Regions from separate parts of the Homo sapiens genome. Here region 2 is linked to region 1. Evidence: promoter capture Hi-C in human tissues and cell types (Jung and others, 2019). All regions are on one chromosome and are shown on one strand. The core of a region is centred on a gene start or on the middle of the fragment in contact, and the rest is flanking DNA. Distances in the headings are between cores, read along the strand shown.

The links. Contacts are between HindIII fragments. The study calls those that stand out against the background at their distance.
Region 2: a contact is called between a fragment that was not itself captured here and the fragment with the promoter of RPL35A in region 1, in 2 of the 25 tissues and cell types used here (mesenchymal stem cells and thymus).

What each region holds. Positions count from the first base shown.
Region 1 is chr3:197,947,873-197,951,665 of GRCh38, reverse strand. It overlaps RPL35A (ribosomal protein L35a), which reads right to left and starts at 1,476. Exons shown (of 5, transcript NM_000996.4): 1 at 1,445-1,476; 2 at 688-730; 3 at 355-507. The coding sequence starts at 698. All of the region lies in intron 2 of DRC9 (dynein regulatory complex subunit 9), which reads left to right. RefSeq lists enhancers at 1-208, 992-1,774, 1,854-2,073. The HindIII fragment of the contact is 11,846 bases long and covers 1-3,793 here.
Region 2 is chr3:197,820,627-197,824,727 of GRCh38, reverse strand. All of the region lies in intron 4 of LRCH3 (leucine rich repeats and calponin homology domain containing 3), which reads right to left. Among named protein-coding and RNA genes, the nearest start is that of LRCH3, 31 kb to the right of the region's middle. The HindIII fragment of the contact is 4,661 bases long and covers 1-4,101 here.

The DNA of each region.
Region 1 (3,793 bases), core at 227-2,726:
AATAGGATAATGAGGCCAGGCGCGGTGGCTCAAGCCTGTAATCTCAGCACTTTGGGAGGCCGAGGTGGGCGGATCACCTAAGGTCAGGAGTTTGGGACCAGCCTGGCCAACATGGCAATACCCTGTCTCTACTAATAATACAAAAACTAGCCGGGCGTGGTGGCCGGCGCCTGTAATCCCAGCTACTCGGGAGGCTGAGACAGGACACTTGCTTGAACCCGGGAGGCGGAGGTTTCGGTGAGGGAGACCAAGTCACTGCATTCCAGCCTCGGCAACAGAGCAAGACTCCGTTATATAAAAAAGAAAATGAGGCAGATCTCAAAAACCCAAAACCTACCAGTGTCATAAACTTACTTCTTTGCTTTATATACATAAGCGCATCTCTTGCCCAAATAGAATTCTGTTTCATCTCGGGCGTAAACACCTTCAATTTTAAGAAGAGCTGTGTGCTCCCTTTGGTTCCGGAGACCCCGCTTATAGCCAGCAAAAATGGCCTTGGACCACAGCCTAAGACACAAAAGATACACAACATGAAACATAAGCTTCAAAAAACCAATCTGACTTGTAATCACCCCCACCCAAAAGTTACTCAGAGCAAACATCTAAGTTTTTTCTTGCCAATTTTAAGCTCGCATTTACGTTCACGTCTAACACACAAAAATAAAGAACTATATTTAAAACGCGTACCTTCCAGACATAGTTCCTTTTAGAAGTCCCGTTCCCAGCAGGCCTTAAAACAAACAAAAAGATTAGTTTAAAACCAAGCCACACAAGTTTCCCACCTCGTCCCCTCTCGTTTAAGCCCCTAAAGCAAATTCCTTTTGGATGGGAGTTTCATGTAGGAGTTCGGGGACAACAATGCCAGAACATCCATATGAAACGCAGGGTCCGGCAAGACATTCAAACCTCAGAGAACAGCTGGTATCTAAGCAAACTTCAGAATGAAGACAAAACTAAGGGACAGGAGTCACAAAAATGACTCTCAGAAAAGCCTGAGAAAATGCATGCCGTTATCAGTAGGCAACACTCAGGAAAAGAAATGAAGCCTTAAAGAGAAACACACACGTAAGACTTTTATGCAATGGCTGGGGGAGAAAAGCTGAGGAAAGAGACTGGTCAGACAAGCCAAGGAAGGTATGGACTGGGAGGAAACGGATGAAGGAAGCACTGCCTCATGGACAACTGCACACGAACAAAAACATCGTTTCACTCCGTTCAGGCCCAGGAATTTAACTGGGATAACCCGGGCAGCCGTTCTCCGGGTGTCAGGGGACCAAACACCATCAGCCCAACATCTCCTCCATCCTGTTCTCCCTCTTCTTGAAACCCGTAGAAATCAATGGCTGGCAGAGACTCCGATACGCACCGGCGACTCGCCAAGGCACAGGAACAAACCTACTCCGGTTATTTGCCCCCAAATTTCAGCAGCAGACCCTTCACTCACCTCCACAGGAGCCAAGATGGCGGTAAGAGAAGGACGAGGCCCCGCCGCGTGGCCTTGTGGGATTAAACATCTTTCGACTCCGCCCTCAATTTAGGCATCTTCTCCAAACGCCAGAAAAACAATCCTCGGAAATCGGCTTCGCACTGAAATAAGCCACATTCAATAGCACTCTTACAATTATTTTCCTAAGTCCTTTCATCTTGGTAGGCTGCAAAATGTACTACTTGGGAACAAGGGAAGGCAAAATGGTAGCCAGCTAAATCCGCCAAAGCTGTGCGTTGCCATAGAAACAACTTAGTTTACTTCCTGCGTCCCCGGACGCCGTAGGTGGAAAGGCGAACCCTGAGTGGAGGATGTTCCCGCTGCCTAAAGAATGATTGACTGTAAGATTGATTTGCCAACAGTGGGGTGCTTTTCTCTCGATACACACAGCAATAGACAGAACGGAAATTCTGGGATCCTAATCTAGCATGGAAGAGAAAGGCCGGGAGCACGAAGGCAGCAGGACCTCTTCCTTCTCTTTTTTCTTTTTCTATACTTCTTTTCTCCCCTCTACTTATTTATCTCTTTCAAGAAATGAGACTGGGCACAGTGGCTCACGCCTGTAAACCCAGCTCTTTGGGAAGCCGAGGCGGGAGGATCGCTTGAGGCCAGGAGTTCGAGACCAGCCTGGGCAACATAGTGAGACCACCTCCCCCAACCTCTACAAAAGAAAAAAAAAATGAATGAAATGACTTAAGTTCTTACCTCCATTCTTCTTTTTGGATCCGAGGTATGAGGAGGACTGCCTGCAGGAGGCTTTATCGCCCTTTTAGGAGAACTCGTTTAGCTGCCTCGTGTCCGCACCTAGTAGGTCCTCCGTAGATACTTGTAGAGGTGGATTAGTGGACGCCAGAGATTCACATTTCCGAATTATTGCATATTTATTTGGGTTATCCTATGGATTCATTCATTTATTTAACACATAGTTTAATGAATGACTACCCTGTACCAAGGTTTGTGTAAGATGACACGGCAGTAAACAAATCTATGCCCTCGTGGAGCTTATATCCTACGAGGCGGAGCAACACAATGAGCAAGTAAAAATAGATGACACGTTAGAAGATGATAATTTCTGTGAAGAAAATTAAGCAGAGAGGCCACTGTAAAAGAGGCTTTCCCCACTTTGAGATGGGAAGTATGTAAAAGAGGCTTCCCCTGCTTTGAGATGGGAACTATTTAAGGGTCCTGAACAGAAGGGTGACTCTATCTGACTTCTATATTGACAAAGTCACTGTGTTGAAAGTGAAGGGAGGCAAGGGTATCAGCAGGAAGATAATTATAGGTTCCTGTAGTGACTATGATGAGAGGTGATGGTGTGTAAACAGAGGATATTGAGTACTGGAATTCTGAATATATTTAAATTCTGGCAAGATTTGCTGGTGGATGAGGAATGAGAGAGAGTAAAGTATGACTCCGAAGTTGTATGAAATAGATGTATATAAGTCACTTTTAAAATCAGATCCTCTCTTAAATACAACAGGATAGAACTTGTACCTTGTAGCCTACTACCCCACCCAGTGTTCCCTGTCCCAGAAAGAAATGTGCTAGAAATTTCACTATTAGATATTGATTTGTCAAAGTTCTATATGGAAGTCCTCCTGGGAGGAATAACACATTAAGTGTGAGTTTCATTCGTTTGCTCGTGTATTATTCGTTCCACAAATACTTATTGAGCACTGAGACTTAGCACCTGATACAACTGTGAGCATCGTTGTCATGTTGCTGCTTTCATGGAACAGTTGTCTAGTGGGGGGAAACTGACACTAACGTAACAAATTGTGAACACAGCTCTGCGGGAAAGTAGTGGCATGAGTGCCCAGAAGCCTGATCTGGCCTGACGAGTCAGCGAAAGGATCACTTGGACAAGTGTCAGTTAAGGCATTTTTCAAACTGCAGGTGATGACCATTAGTAGAGCATGATAAGAATACTTTTTAAAACAAAGTATGGGCCGGGCGCAGTGGCTCACGCCTGTCATCCCAGCACTTTGGGAGGCTGAGGTGGGTGGATCACTTGAGGTCAGGAGTTTGAGACCAGCCTGGCCAACATAGTGAAACCCTGTCTCTACTAAAAATACAAAAATCAGCCAGGGGTGTTGGTGTGTGCCTGTCATCCCAGCTACTTGGGAGGCTGAGGTACAAGAATCGCTTCAACCTGGTAGGGGGAGGTTTCAGTGAGCTGAGATCCTGCCACTGCACTCCAGCCTTGGTGACAGAGTGAGACCGTCTCAAAAAAAAAAAAAAAAAAAAAAAAGGTAAAGCAGGAGTGAAACTACAAGGGATGATGGAGTCTCCCGGGACCTAGGAAAG
Region 2 (4,101 bases), core at 958-3,457, 130 kb after region 1:
TGGTGGCGGGCTCCTATAATCCCAGCTACTTGGGAGGCTGAGGCAGAGAATCACTTGAACCCGGGACGGGGGGGCAGAGGTTACCGTGAGCCGAGATCGCGCCACTGTACTCCAGCCTGGGTGACAGAGTGAGACTGTCTCAAAAAAAAAAAAAGCTGGGCAGCAATACTAGAGAACAGCCAGTCCACATCAGAAGAGAAAAAAAGGGCTCAGTGAGGTGGAAGTGCAGGGAAAAAAGGGATAGAGAATCTGGTCTGACCAGAAAGCCTGCTGGAAAAAGAGGGTGGAATTAGCCATAGACACACATAAAAATAAGCATATAAAAAGATAAGAAACTATTACCTCCAGGGGAAAAAAAAAAAAAAAGCCGGGCGTGGTGGCTCACGCCTGTAATCCCAGCACTTTGGGAGGCCAAGGCGGGTGGATCACGAGGTCAGGGGTTCGAGACCAGCCTGACCAACATGGTGAAACCCCATCTCTACTAAAAATACAAAAATTAGCTGGGCATGGTGGCGGGCGCCTGTAATTCCAGCTACTCAGGAGGCTGAGGCAGGAGAATTGCTTGAACCCGAGAGGCGGAGGCTGCAGTGAGCCAAGATCATGCCACTGCACTCCAGCCTGGGCGACAGAGCAAGACTCTGTCTCAAAAAAAAAAAGAAAAAAACATGTACAAGAAAGGAAATAAAATCAGAGTACATCACTTGAATTGGCAGGGAACAATGTTTACATAATTACAGTAATGTGAACACTGAGTAACAATTTAATCAGAAGTTGTGCTAAAACTACACTGGGAAGATGGGAGGAAAGCAGTAAAGGCATGGTATGGTGACAGTGTAAGGAAACTAAATCCTCATCTATCATCACAATAGGAAGCTGACATAAGTGTCAAAGTTGCCCAAACCAGCAATAGCTATAAAAACATATCAGTTAGAAATATGTCAGCAGTCTGGGCACTGTGGCTCATGCCTGTAATCTCAGCACTTTGGGAGGCTGAGGTGGGTGGATTGCTTGAGTCCAGGAGACCAGCCAGGGGAACATGGTGAGACCCTTGTCTCTACAAAACAATACAAAATTTTCTGGGTGTGATGGTGCATGTCTGCAGTCCCAGCTACTTGGAAGGCTCAGATGGGAGGATGGCTTCAGCCCACAGAGTTCGAGGCTACGGTGAGCTCTGGTCACGCCATGCACTCCAGCCTGGGCAACAGAGTGAGACCCTATCTCAAAAAAAAAAAGAGTCAAAGGAGTTTAATGAAGGTACATACTTTTGGCCATTGAAATTGGTGTGCAGGGAAGTTTGAGGCAGGGGAACGACACTATTTAAGATTCTTGGCTGGGCACGGTGGCTCACGACTGTAATCCCAGCATTTTGGGAGGCTGAGGCAGGCGGATCACGAGGTCAGGAGATCAAGACCATCCTGGGCAACATGGTGAAACCCCGTCTCTACTAAAAATACAAAAAAGGCCGGGCACGGTGGCTCACGCCTGTAATCCTAGCACTTTGGGAGGCTGAGGCAGGCGGATCATGAGGTCAGGAGTTTGAGACCAGCCTGGCCAACATAATGAAACCCCGTCTCTACTAAAAATACAAAAAAAAAAAAAAAAATTAACTGGGCATGGTGGCGGGCACCTGTAATCCCAGCTACTTGGGAGGCAGAGGTTGCAGTGAGCCAAGATCACTCCACTGTACTCCAGCCAGGGCGACAGTGTGAGACTCCGTCTCAAAAAAAAAAAAAGAAGTAAAAATACAAAAATTAGCTGGGTGTGGTGGTGTGTGCCTGTAATGCCAGCTACTCGGGAGGCTGAGGCAGGAGAATGGCATGAACCCAGGAGGTGAAGCTTGCAGTAAGCTGAGATCGCACCACTGCACTCCAGCCTGCGTGACAGAGTGAGACTCCGTCTCAAGAAAAAAAAAAAAAAAAGATTCTTAATATTTTTTAATATTTTTTGAATGATGTAACATATTATTTGGTAAAAATTAATTTTAAATCAAAATGGCAATATAACAAAAGATATATGACATGTACCAAATTGCAATGTTAGAAATTACCAATTAAGTAACACAAACTTCCACACGAACGAATGTAGCTGTTGGAATAAAGCTTCACTTGCTAACTCAGTTCAACTATATGTGCTGAGATTATAAAATAAACTGTTAAAAAAATTGAAACTATTTGTGTGATAAACCATTTTGTCAGCAGTCTACAATCAAAATAAGATACAGAAATAAATTAGTTGATAAAACTATTAAGCTTCCATTGTCATCTGAAATGCTCAATTTTCATTTTGATTAAAACCCTAATATTCTCATTAATTGATTTCACACTAAATATTATTATAGGAGTAAGTCTTTGAAGACCAACCACAGTAGGCGAGTCCTGAGTACAGAGGTAACCCTAGGGAGAAATTTGGGGTTATAAGGTCCTAGAGGTCATGATTTTGGTTTTGCTAACCTTCATTTACATTCCTGAGTTGGTAGCAAACAGAACCAGGAGAAAATAAGGAAGGCCCTGAGGATAAAAAGTGTGAAGGTTCCTGGACAAGCCAAGTGAGAGGAAAGACACGCAAGGTTTTGGTTGCAGTAAGTATATAAAAGTGGACTGAAAAGGTCACGTTCTTACACATTTACTTGGAATCCAAAATGTCAAAGCTCCACTAGTATGTTAGAACTAAATATTATGCTGTATCAAATTGGTATAAATATTTGAATTCCACAGGGAAAGCGAAAACATCATTAGTTAATTCAACATGTATTGTGGCCAGGTGCAGTGGCTCACGCCTATAATCCCAGCACTCTGACAGGCTGAGGCAAGTGGATCTCTTGACCCCAGGAGTTTGAGACCAGCCTGGGCAACAGGGCAAAACCCCGTCTCTACTAAAAATACAAAAAGTAGGTGACATGGTGGCAAGTGCCTGTAGTCTAAGCTACCTGGGAGGCTGAGGTGAGAGGATCACCTAAACCTGAGAGGTCGAGGCTGCAGTGAGCCATGTTCGTGCCACTGCACTCTAGCCTGAGTAATGGGAGTGAGACCCTGTCTCAAAACAAACAAAATATTGATTGTACACTGTAAGTCATATTTTGTCAAAGAACCCAGAAAAGCACTGTCATGAAAATACCTTGAGAAGATTCCTTGTTTTTCTGGAATGTTTACCAATAAATTTCTGTATTTGATTCAAATTAATCTAGAGAATAGTGCAGGGGAAAGTAAATGAGAGCACAGTTGAGACAAGACTTGCCATGAGCTGATGACTCTTACTGCTGGGTGATGAGCAGAAACATATAGGAAGAAATATATATTCTGGATCTCATAAAATAATAGCTCTCATTTTCATCTTCCTTTCTAGCATTCTGTTTCATTAATTTGTGAAAGATTGATAAACTAGACTTCATTAATGTTTAATCATTTTTATCAAATACATATATCAGAGCTTGTAGTCAGCCTAAGTAAATAACCCGTCTCTTAGCGCAGTCTCTCACCCCATTTATCATTCACTCTACACATCACCTCCACATGGTTCATTAGCCTCTGTTTGAACATCTCCAGTGACCGGTTAAGTTCAGGTCAAAGTCCATTTTTAAGTGAGTGCTAACTGCAGAAATGTTTTTCATTATACTACACTATCCCCTTATCCAAACATGTTACATTTCCCCCAAACAGTCATGCTTACTGAAATTTCCAGGGACCCTACCCTGAGTTATTAATTACATCGGTTGACAAGATCTAAAAATAAAATCAAAGGTCAAGAGTTATCAAACCTTTTCATTGAAGAGGCTTTTAAAATCCACAATGGAACAGATAACACTATTAAATAAACCATTAGATTTCAAACACTGGAGGTAACACACACATACTCTCTCACACACACACAAACACACACAGACACACACACACTCTCTCTCTCTCTCCCCACCCCGTTTTTTTAAAAAAGGTCTCTTTCTGGTGCTCAGGCTAGAGTGCAGTGACCCCACCACAGCTCACTGCAGCCTTGGCCTCCTGGGCTCAGGGACTCCTCCCACCTCAGCTTCCTGAGTAGCTGGGACTACAAGAGTGCGCCAGCCCCCTGGGCTAATTTGTTAATTTTCTGTAGAGACAGACTCCCTAT